Regions from separate parts of the Homo sapiens genome. Here region 1 is linked to region 2. Evidence: promoter capture Hi-C in human tissues and cell types (Jung and others, 2019). All regions are on one chromosome and are shown on one strand. The core of a region is centred on a gene start or on the middle of the fragment in contact, and the rest is flanking DNA. Distances in the headings are between cores, read along the strand shown. Region 1 has its middle 29 kb from the start of LINC00934. Region 2 holds the start of SRRM4 (serine/arginine repetitive matrix 4).

Region 1 (5,796 bases), core at 25-2,524, 290 kb before region 2:
GCTCTTTCCTCCTCTTGCTCATCACCACTGATTACTCAAGGTATTTTTATGTAAACAGAAAATGGCTCCTGCATAATTAGACCCATCCACCTCCACACTCGCTGCTCTTTCTTTGCTTCTAGCCTCTTGGAGCCGCCCAGTCACCTCTGAGGCTAATCAGCTGAAGGTCTATGCATCTGCTGAGCTCTGAAGGTTCCAAGAGGGCTGTAGAGGGGCCATAGACAATGACTGCAGAGGCTGTCATCTGGGGCTGTAAAGGCTGCTGAGAAAAACACATAGCCCTGCAACTCCGATTTTTCCCTCTTGGTTCCCTCCAGTACATCCCCCTGTTCCCAGTGTCCTGTGCTACCTGTTGCACACATCAGGGAGACATTCTTTTTCCAAACTTAGCAGCCTTGTCTCCCATCCCTGACTTTCTCTTAGCTAACTCCAGACAAGAAAGGGTTAATCTTAAAATAACCAAATCTCTGTATATGGATGACATCTATGTAATGTGTGCCTTCCATGGTAGCTTCCTGGGTATATGCAGGACTGGAATTCTTCGTTTCCATCTTGTTCTTCCTGCACACCCTCCACCCCCTGACCCTGATAGACCACATCATAGGTCTCAATGACATCACTGAAGGCAGGGAGTGTATCGTATCATATTGTCTTCTCATCCCCCATGTTTGGCATAGTTCTGAGAGTTAGTTGGTGCTCTGTTTGGGAACTTCAGGTTCAGCTGAGAAGGCATGGGAATGCTGAGAAATAAGTCCACAGAGGTAAGTAAAGTTAGAGCGTTGAAAGGTTTGGACTTTATCTTGCAGGCACTGAGGAGTTTTAAGGGTGAAATAATCAGATTTGTGTTTCAGGAAGCTCACTTTGGCTGCCAAGTGGAGAGCAGACAAAGGGGAACAGGAAGACTATTAGAAGGCTGTTAAAATAATTCCAGAGACCTGCAGCCTAAACTAGGGGGTGGGAGCTTTCCTTCATCCCCCCAATGTTTTTGCAGCCACATGTGCCTACTCCAGGCAGATGCCGTTGGGAGGTGCAGTTGGTACTCAACCTGCACTCCCTAGGCCTCAGTTGTCTGCCGCAGTTCTTGGATGCTCTGATGACTTCCAGTAGGCTGTGATGCTTTCCAGTATCTCTCAGCCTGAGGGTGTCCATGGGCCATGGTAGTGTGCTTGATACCTCTCAGAGCAGGTAGAAAGCACCGGAGGAGTGACACTTCATGAGTGTTCCTCAACCCGTGAGGACAAATACCCCAGCTTCCTTGATCCTTGGAGGGACAATTCTGAAGCATATTCTACATTATCTACTAGAAGTATCGTGAAGGATTAAACCCCAACAGTCCATGGAGAGTGACCAGCTCATTAAGATATCCTGGATTGCCATCTTCCCTTCTCTGTCTGACTTCCCCACTTCTTCACAATGCTTCCTGGGATCACTCCCAAAAAAACTCTTTGAACCCAAATCCTTGTCTCAGAGTCTGTTTTTAAAGGAACCCGAACTATGACATTAGCATTTTACTATAATTTCGTATTACATGGATAAATGGATAAATACACAAACGTTGTCCGGGTGTGGTGGCTCAAGCCTGTAATCCCAGCACTTTGGGAGGCCGAGGCAGGCGGATCACGAGGTCAGGAGATCGAGACCATCCTGGCTAACACAGGTGAAACCCTGTCTCTACTAAAAATACAAAAAAATTAGTCCCAGCTACTCGAGAGGCTGAGGCAGGAGAATGGCGTGAACCTGGGAGGCAGAGCTTGCAGTGAGCCGAGATCGTGCCACGGCACTCCAGCCTGGGTGACAGAGTGAGACTCTGTCTCAAAAAAAGAAAAAAAAAAATACACATTTTCATTCATTCATTCATTGATGCTATCCCTTTTACTTGACTTTTTAACATCAACGATTCCTTTAAGAATGGCACATTTGCTTTCTGGGGCACTAAGTCCCGCTCAAACTTGTTCAGGCACAGCATTTAGTCAGTGCATGGACCCCAAATATTAAAATGAGGCATGGAAATGCACCTGGTTTTAAATATCCAAAGTCAAGGTGCAAGGGGTTATGAGAAAATGGAATGCCCACTTCAGCAGGTGCCACATATTGGCTCTGCTCAGTAATATTAAGACAGGACCCAGCAGTGGGCAAATGTAAGGGACCCATTGAAGGTGCTATCACTTAAGCTTCCTTCACCTGGGAGAGTGTACATGAATTGTCTAAAAAGAGTAAACTTTATGGCTGGTGGAGAGTTCATATTATTTCTTTTTTTCTTAGAAAATATTCTGGTCTTAAAAAAAAAAGTGATCTCAAATTACCTCAACTGTAGTGGCAAAGGACTGCTCTGTATTTAAAGTTTATTGTGAAAATTTGGAGGGCTGGGATAGGAAGCTGCCAGCCATGAGTAAGCGTATGGTTTTTCACCAGGGGTGACTTTGCTTCCAGGGGACACTTGACAATGTCTAGAGAAATTTCTGGTTGTTACAACTTGTGTGTGGGGGGTGTGTTACTGGCATCTCATGAGTAGAGGCCAGGGATGCTGCTCAACATCTACAGAGCAGCTAGATTATCTCGTCTCAAAGGTCAATCGTGTTGAGATTGAGAAACCCTGCTTTAGAGGAATCACTTATCCTAGCTTCTATTTTTTCCCCTAGGCTTGGGGAGGGAAGGACTTGAATCATGGGGCATATCTAGGGATTCCAGCATGGGGCAGTAGAGGATGGTATAAATCCCTGTGCCTGCCTTTGCCTGGGGGTAAAGTGGTAGTGGTGAAACAGGAAAAATTCCCTTATCCCCCTCTCGGGGTGTGCGATGGGGGTGTGGCTCTCTTCTTCAGTGCCCCACAGCTTAAACCCCTAGAGGGAGCATGCAGATGAGCAGGTCGTGGGGAGCGCGGGCTCCGACCCCACAGCAGCATCTAGGGTTGAATGTTTATAGCTCCCGAAGCCCCAGTGGGCGTGTGGTACAGTGTGCTCTTTCAGCGTAGCTGTCCACAGGCAGCTTGTGTTAATCAGCTCAATTAGACCCTCTGCCTTATCACAGGGACAGAGGGCTTTCTTTACCCTAGGTTCTTGCCCCAGTGTCCTGGAAGAATCAGATCACACTTGGGCTTGGATGATGGGTGCAAGGTTTTATTGGGTGAAGGTAGCTCTCAGCAGATGAATGGAGAGCCAGCAGCGGGTGGTGTGGAAAGGTGATCTTCCCCTGGAGTCAGAATGCTCAGCAACTGGACTCCCCTCCAACCGCCCCCAACTGAATTCTGCATTGTCCTACCGTAGATGGCCTGCCGGCGTCTACTGGTGTCTGCTGGTGTGTGCTTCTGCCAGTGTGTTCCTCTCAACCTCCAGCTGTTTGTGTCTGTGTCTGCTAGGGTCTTGGGGTTTTTATAGTTACAGGATGGGGCATTTGGCAGGTTAGAGTGGTCTTAGAAAATGCACCATTTGGGCACGAAAACAGGAGTGGCTGTCCTCACCTAGGTCCGTGGGCACAGGCCCAAGGGTGAATCCTTTGCCAGGGACCCTGCCCTTCTTTACCCAGCACTTCCCTGCCCCAACTCCCATATCAGTGGTGGGAACACGGGGCCATTGGCATTGCTAAGGGCCTTATTTCAAATTGGTCTCAACAATGGGATGGTTTAAAAGCAACTAAAGCTTACTTAAAAAGGAAACTTGATATCATTACCATAAATAAGAAAAACCCAGAGTCACTTGCCTTAATTAGAAGGTAATCACAAAATAAATCCAATGAAAGTAATAAAATATTATTGAATACGGGGGAGTTGAGCAGGCTGGAAATCAGGAAGCCTTAGGAGAGTCCCATTATCTCTCCAGGCTTCGATTTGCTCAGCTATCAAATGAGATTTGGTTAAAATAGTGTTTCTCAAAGACTGGTAAGGGCAGTACATTTTGTGCAAAGGAGGTAATATATAGCTGTGTGCAGAGGCAGCATTAAGTAACAGTGAAATACTTGGTGAGAAATTGATCCCTTTTTTCAATGTTCTTTTAGTCCCTCCAAACGTAACAAGGAGAAAGTCTCAGTTGGGGTGCTAACATGTCTTTAACACCTTTTGGACCCTTGCTAATTTCCCTTTTGGCAAAAGACACAGCAGTCCACAGGGTCAGGGCATTTGTCAGGTCACCATTCTCAGTATTTAGTAACATTCTATAATTTCATTGTACTTATTTTATGATTGCCTTCTATTCATGTAAAGTGGTACTAGTTTTCCATTTTAGTGGTATTATAGAAATTTTGTCTTGAAATACATCTATGTAAGTTCTGTAAGTGAATCAATTTAATAATATTAAATAAAAATGAACAGGTAGTATGTAAAAATGGTAAAGATTATGACATTAGCAGATACCATAATGCAAGGCAGTCAGGTTGTCCTTCTTCCAGGGATAACCTTAAAATCACTGTATTTGTTTTTTTACTTGCAAAGTTAATAATTTGCAAATAAATTGCAAATATCTATGCTTTAAATATTACCTTAAAATTACACAGGACTCTCTTAAAGTGAGCCAGTTGACATGTCTAAATGCTTCCAGCTCTATTAACCACTCATCCCTCCTCTGACTCATTTTACAGTATCTTTTGTGAGAAGCACTATATCTACACCTAACTCAGTACTTGATACAAAGTAGGCACTTAATAGGTGCTTGTTGAAGAAATATATGCAGCCAAGTAATAAAAAAGGAAGTTTTCAGTTGCTGTTGACAGAAAATCCAACTCAGACTGGCTTGACAACAACAAAAAGACAGAGAAATGTTCAGAGGTAAGGGGGGTTGTAGCATGGGTCCAGAGGTGTATGATATGATCTTGGCTGTGACTTCATTTCTCTAGTCTTCTCAGATCTGCCATTCTTTGTGTCCTTGTCCTCTGGGGGAGATTTGCATTACGGTAGAAAAAATAGCTGCTGAGATCTCATTCTCAGACACCACAAATCCAGAGGAAGAGAGCATCTTGTCTCCAATATTCCAAGGAATTGTTTTGAGATTCACTCCAATTGGACCATTTTGGGTCACATGTCAACCCCAGAACCAATCACTGAGGCCAGAGGGATGAAATCCATTGATTGGTTTCTCCTGGGTTACATGTCCCATGCCTGCATCCAGGGATGGTACCATCTTCCCCAGAGTAACATGAGTTCTCAGATGGGAATTGAGAGCTGTTAGGAAGGTTAAGTTGGGAGGGGAGGGAATAGATGCTAGAAAGCATGAACACGTGATGGATGCCCCCTCCATCCATGAATGACAGCTGACATTGATAGAGCCCATGCTGGTTCATGAACCATTTGTTATTTTCCAGGATGAGATGAAAAGAGTAATTGAGGGTAAGCATTTAGAAACTTTGTGAGAAGTTCAATATTTGTACAGCATCCAAGTGTGTGATGAGTGGACTCATCTTGTTGAACAGGGTTTAGACCACAAGCGTTGGCTTATGAAGCATGGGAAAAAATTAGTCTTTCATAATAGATTATTTGAGAAGTGCAGGTGTAGAAGCTGTGTCTTGCAGCTTGTCCACTGTTAGAAGATTGGTTTCCATGTTCAGCTGGAATGGGGATAAGGTGTGTCTGGTTGAAAGGAGAGCTGAAAATAGTAATAATAGCTACATTGGTGAGAAATTGATCATTTCAATTACAAATGGAAATCACCATAGCCCGTCATCCAGTCTCTCTGCACAAAGATTAAAAGTGAAGGCTTTGGAATAAGAGAGACTCAGGTTCAAACCTTACTTCCAACATTTTCTAGCTGTGCCATAAAGTACTAGGATAAAGTACTAGGAGTGTTGGAGCCTCAGTTTTCTCCTCTGTAA
Region 2 (6,439 bases), core at 2,280-4,779:
TGGCCACTATAAGCTTTGTTCCAGAGTCAATGTCTACTAAACAACACCATGCACCACACATAGGGGTAGAGCTTTACCTAACTAAATCCTTACAACCTGTTGTCTGAGGGGTTACTGTTATTATTTCTATTTTCAAGCTCAGTGTGGTAAAACTATTTGTTCAGGATACACAGCTAGTAAATGATAGAACCAGGACAGGAATCCAGGTTGTCTCATGCTCAAGTCTGAGCTCTTAACCACTATGATATACTGCTTCCCACTCTGCTCTACTGTTCTGACATTTGAGGCAGACATCTGGTTGCAATTTGATACATTATAAAGCTATTGCCTCATCAAGTATGCCCCACAGAGGGGTAGAGGAGAAAGAGAGACTAAGCAGGGGGTTGCTTAGATTGCAGTTGCATGATGTATGCATATTGCTATGAAATCAATGAATTGAATATATGTTTCTATCCTGGTACTAAATTACCTTGAGAGATAGACTTAAAATATCCTGAGGAAGTTTATTCAGAGGGGTGGCCTTCATCTATAAACAAATATTAAGTGTGACACCAACAGGACTGACTAGTGGTTCCTCCACCCACTCCCTGCCATCCCCCTGCAGACTGCTACATGTGCTGGTTTGCCGACTGTGATCTGGGCTTGACTCATGGAACTAAACGACATTTCTGATGAGACCAAGTCCCCAGATTGCCTCTAGAGGAAGCCACCCAAACCCAGCTGATATTGTGCCAATGCCTCTGTCTTCTTTCCTCTTGAGAACTCAGCTTTGGAAACATGGTACTTTCACCCTTAAGTAAGTGTAGAATGTTGAAAAGGAAGTGGAAATTGAATGTCACTGGATGTGGCTGGCTTGGGTGAGAATGGGGATGATTCAGGTTTTATCCAGTCTGTTAAAAGACAACTCCAATCCAACCTTTCCTGAGGACTTGGAAACAAATGTTCCCTTCTCACTCTCTACCCCAAACCAGGAGTAACAGTTATAAAACCGGAATCTGTTCTACAGAGAGGCCACGCCTATTACAGAAGTATTACACAGGATTCTCCTAGCGTGACATAAATCCAGGGCTTATGGTTCAGGCTTTCACCTCAGGGGTGGTTTCTAGGGCAAAGGAGACCCACGACATTAAAAGGCACCAAGAGTGAAATGATACTGGTTGCAGAGGGGGAGTGGAGTATTATAAAAGTCTCAGGATTACATTAGAATTAGCAAAAAGCTGCAGAAAGGATGAGGGTTGAAAGACCTTGTGGGCCATTCATGTGATTGCAAATATGACCAAGAAAAGGGCAGGACAGTAACAGAGAGACAGACAAAAGTGGAAAGTACCAAGCAAGGCAGATAATAGGTGTGCTTTCCTGAATCAAAACACCACCAAGAATCCGCTTTCCTCTCCCTGCACCCCTAAAATAGATGGAAGACTCTGGACTAAATGCCATACTTCTAGTTTCCTGTGAAATTTCCTCTAGTTCCTTCTACAAGGGCATTTTCTTTGGCCAGTGCAGCACCTGATTAGCCAACAGTAGGTACGTTCCAAAGGTGGAATAGATAGCAGAAACCCAGGAAGATAAAAACCACTGACGTCAAAACTCTATACACAGAACCTCCTTCGGAGCAGAGAAGCATCAGCCTTTAATGGCATTTGGTATTATTGTTCCCCTTCTCCAGCCTGTGTCAGTGGGTGGGTGGGTGTCCCCTCCTTCCCGTCTGCAAACACTGGCTGGTGCTGCTTTAGCTTGAAGCCTGCTACACCCTACTGGCCTGTTGTGATGCTTGGCCACCCATTCCTAAATGGGACACCTATTTCTCTAAAGACCTGTATGATCCTCAATAAGACAGTGAAGAGGAAAACTTCTCCAATCTGGCTTTGATTCTTCAGACATAATTTCCCATACGTCTTCCACCTCACACTCACTGGAAAGTTCAGAATCAGTTGTGCCAGAACAGACGTTCAGTCTGTCCTAAGCACTTTTGCAGACATGTTTTCAATCTGCTCCCTAATGCAGACTGCCAGGATTAATAAATCCTCCAAGTGGTCCCCCTGGTCCACTTCTTTCTTTTCTCCTACTAAACCACTCATCCAACACCAGCAAAAGATGAGTTTTCATACTACCTTGATTTTCCCTGACAGAGAGCACAGCCTTCTTCCCTTCATTCTTAAACTCCTCTAAATTGAATGATTTATGAAAAGAATTGGATTTTTCTCTGTCTTGGAATGCTTCCATTTTCCCCCAACCTCCTCTCCCTCTCACCCCACCTCCTGTTCCCCTGTTTCTTTCATTTCTTCCCTTATTCTTCCTTCCATCAGCACCATGTCTACCACCATCCAAGGATCGGTTCTCATCCCTGAGTTCAAAGCAATCAGATTCTTTTTGGAAAAAAAAAAAAAAAACAAAAAAAAACAAAATAAAACTCTTCCAAGATCATCTTCACGATCTTGGAAGGCTCCTCCCTGACTCCTGAGCTCAGAGTCTTGGTTTTGGATGCTGGAGAGGAGAGAATTCAGCAGCAGCGGCAGCAGCCGCCAGAAAGGCGTGGAGGAGGGTGCTGTTTTGGGTGTATTTGAGGGAACAGCATATGGGCTTTTGTCAAAAATGTTCAAAGCTCGCTAGTTTCCGAGCCGAGGATGGAAATGTGTGCTATCTCTGAACGCTGCTTGAGCTGGCTCAGTTCTCCTTTTCTGGTACAACACCCCCCAAACATCTCAAATCCACCATTCCTTGGCCCACCTGCCCTCTGGACTCTGTGACACCAAGAAAAGTTTTTCAGTCAAGTCGTACCCCATCTGCACCGCCCACCCTCAGGTAGCAAAACCTCTTGAATAGGAGCTACGGGGGTCCAATAAGCGTTGCTTTCCCCCAAAGAATTCCTGTCCCTTCTCACCATCTTCCACCTCACACAAGCAATGAGTTCCCATGTTTCAGCGGGAGCCGCCGAGTAGTGACGGGAAAAGACAGGCGCCCTGGCCCGGCTGCCTGCATCCACCCCTCCGGGCTCTGGGGCACAGGCCAGAAAGGAGGACCTTCAGGATCCCCCCTTCTAAGAAGGAGATCATTACCTTGGCAGCGGCTTGCGGGCCGTGATACTGGCGACAATGATGCTCTCGGGACGGGGGGTGGCCACCGCTTTGAAGGTTCCTCGCCAGAACTTCTCAAAAAGCTGCTTCTCGCCTTGCTGAACGCTCGCCATCGCCAACCCAAAGGGGCCGGGGCGTCCGGGGCGCTGTCCAAAGTGCTGAAACGTGGATTCCAAACGGGGGCGACACCCAGCTCCCGGCTCTGTCCGGGTGAAACCCAGAGAGGGGTGGGGTGGGAGAGATCGGAGTTCAGGGCGGGGGATGGGACGCCCCAGCCCGGGCAGGCAGCAGAGAAAGGAGGCTCGTCCGCTGGGCTTTCTTCGCCCTTCTGGGTCGGCTCCAGGCTGCGCTCTGAGCTGGCTGAGCCTCTGCGCCCCAAGAAGGGAAGGGAGGGCTGGCTTTCTGGGCAGCACCAGGAGAGAAGAGGCGACGGGGTCGGATGTGTGTGCGTGCGCGTGTGAGCTCCGGCGCGCCCGGGTTTTGTCTCTCGCACAATGTGACGTTGGAAGAGGAGGCTGGTCGCGCGAGCTGCACTTTCCTCCCCCCTCTCCGTCTCTCCTCCTCCCCACCAACCCCCTCCTCCTCAGGCTCAGCCTCCTGCCGCCATCTGCATAACAAAAGCCCGCAGGTCTTGGGAGGAGAAAGGGCGGGGCGTGCGCCTGTCACCAGGGCCCCGCGGCGACCGAGTTGCAGCGCTGATCCCTCTGAGAAGCCATCCTGGCACCCCAATCTGCGCCAGGCAGGAGATCCTGCTTCCCAGGCCCCTCTCCTCTCCCATCATCGCTGGCCTTCCTCAGCCCTTTCCTGGGTGCCCCCTTTGGGCCAGGCCACCTTTCTTTCCAGCCCCTTCGCAAGTCTTGTAGCTGATCTTCTGCGTGGGGGGGGGGGGGGGGTTGGGGGGGCTCGTAAAAAACTTAATCTATCCACCCCAGCCGGCCTCCCCCAGACCCTCACTTTTGGGAGACACGGCCTAGGCCGGTACAGAGGGTGCCCTGCGTTCCTCTTTGCGCCGGGGGTTAGCGAGGTCTCCACCACCCAGAAAGTGCCATTTGATAGACAATCCCTCACCAATTCGGCTTCTCGCCATCTGCCGAGCAGGGCCCCCGCCCGCCAAGGGGCGCAGCGTTACATCTGTGCATGCGGAGCTGTCAAGGGTATCTCTTTTGTGTCTCACAGCCGGCCTGCCCAGCGTCCCCGCCGCCAACCCCGTCCAGAGGAAAGAGTTCCCATCTCACCCCACCCCACCCCCATCCACTCCTGGGGAATCCGCCTGCAGCCACTTTTCCTAATGCCGCTAGTCTCGGGAAAGGAGTACGTTTTGGAAAAGAAAGCGCTTAGTGGGAGGGTTGGAGAGGAAAATCTCGAGGATTAGCAGGGGGATAGTTACTTTTCGGTCTCTCCTCCCCATCTCCTTACCGCCTCGCAGTTCAATCGTAATCCCAAGCAAGTGGAGGTTTAGAATCCCAAATCAACCCCAGACACAGAAGATCTGGTTAGAATGACTCTTGTTTTCCCCCAGGGTTTTCATTATAAAAAAAAGAGATCGTGGCGGGACCCCTCAGCCCTTGCCTTCCTGGAAGCCTTTTAATCTTAGCAGAGTTGTTACTCCCCCATCTCCCACCTAACGCCCTCCCCCTCCCCCCAACCCCGCTTCCACTTTCCAGGCTGTAAATTCCTGGAAGGAGGCCTCGCTCAGTCTTAAATGCCTCCAAGCACCTGGTGCTGAGTCCCAGTCACAGCGAGAATAAACTCCTGCTCTTTGCTAAAGCAGATAGCAATGGGGACCCAATGAGGGCGGGGTAGGGCGGGGGGGTCGGGAGAACAATGGGAACTCCAGAAATTCTCTGAAGGGGAACAGGAGGTAACTAGGAGGTGAAGATGAAGAGGCCAACAGAGAGGATAAGATGGGGCAGGAGAAGAAAGAACCTTGGAGTAAATGAGTACCCGCCCCAAAGGGTATCTACGTTTGAAGTGTGTGTGTTCGACACGCCTGCGTCCGCTTATTTGAGTGCCTGAGAGCGCTACTTGCTCTGCAGTGACCCCTTCTGGTCAACAACGAGAGGTGCATTTGCTGGCTTCTTATGTGGGTTGCCGGGGGAGAGGGCCCAGAGGTGGGGGTCAGGCCTGGGAAGGTTGGAGATGGAGCAAAGTGGAGACTAGGCTAACCCCTTCCCTTCCTCTCCCTCTTACCTTGCGCCCCAAATCCCCCATTCCCTGATTGGGCTAGACCCCCGTTTCCCACCCAGAAGTTGGTATCATTGTAAATGCAATCTAGAGCTGGCTTCTTATAGGTAGCAGACTGGCATCTTTAAAACTAACCTTAGTCATGACATTTAGGGTATGAACTGAGTCACTTGCAGGAGAGAGGTAGGTGGGATCCTACCCCCACAAGATCAGTCAACATCTTCCAGTTGTGTGCCTGCTCCTAATCCCTAAAATGTTGATAGAGCTCCCATATGCAAAACATTGCCTTTTTAAAATCCCATCGTAGCCAGATGAGGTGGGAGAGAAAGCTGATCTTATTCTATTTTATTTATTTATCTTATTTCAATAGCTTTAAGGGTGCAAGTGTTTTTTGGTTACATGGATGAATTGTATAGTGATGAAGTCTGGGCTTTTACATACCTGTCACCCGAATAGTACCTTACCCCCAAAAGGCCATTATTAAAAAGTAAAAAAAAAAAATAGATGGTGTAGATGCAGTGAAAAGGGAACAGTTATACACTGTTGGTGTGGATGTAAATTGGTACAACAACTATGGAAAACAGTATGAAGATTTCTCAAAGAACTAAAAGTAGACCTGCTCATTCTTTTATAAAGACACATGCATGTGTATGTTCACTGCAGCACTACTCACAATAGCAAAGACATGGAATCAACCTAAATGCCCATCAGTGATAGACTGGATAAAGAAGTTGTGGTACATATACACCATGGAATACTACGCAGCCATGAAAAGAATATCATGTCCTTTGCAGGGACATGAGTGGAGCTGGAGGTCATTATCCTTAGCAAACTAACATAGGAACAGAAAACCTGATACCACATGTTCTCACTTATAAATGGGAGCTAAATGATGAGAACACATGGGCATATAGATGGGAATAACACACACTGGGGCCTTTTGGAGGGTGGAAGTTGGGAGGAGGGAGAGGATCAGGAGAAATAACTAATGGGTACTAGGCTAAATACCTGGGTGATGAAATAATCTGTTCGACGAACCCCCGTGACACAAGTCTACCTATGTAACAAACCTGCGCTTGTACCCCTGAACTTAAAATAAAAGTTAAAAAACGTAGACCTGCTATTCGATCTTACTCTGTTTTAAACATGAAGAAGTTGAGGATGACCAAGTGACTTCCCCA

The links. The method cuts DNA at HindIII sites, captures the fragments that hold promoters and counts their contacts. A contact is called where the count stands out against the background at its distance.
Region 1: a fragment that was not itself captured here is called in contact with the fragment with the promoter of SRRM4 in region 2 in 1 of the 25 tissues and cell types used here (hippocampus).

Annotation. Positions count from the first base shown.
Region 1 is chr12:119,271,781-119,277,576 of GRCh38, reverse strand. No RefSeq gene overlaps it. Among named protein-coding and RNA genes, the nearest start is that of LINC00934, 29 kb to the left of the region's middle. The HindIII fragment of the contact is 3,258 bases long and covers 1-2,903 here.
Region 2 is chr12:118,978,631-118,985,069 of GRCh38, reverse strand. It overlaps SRRM4 (serine/arginine repetitive matrix 4), which reads right to left and starts at 3,529. Exons shown (of 13, transcript NM_194286.4): 1 at 3,057-3,529. The coding sequence starts at 3,187. The HindIII fragment of the contact is 17,491 bases long and covers 1-6,439 here.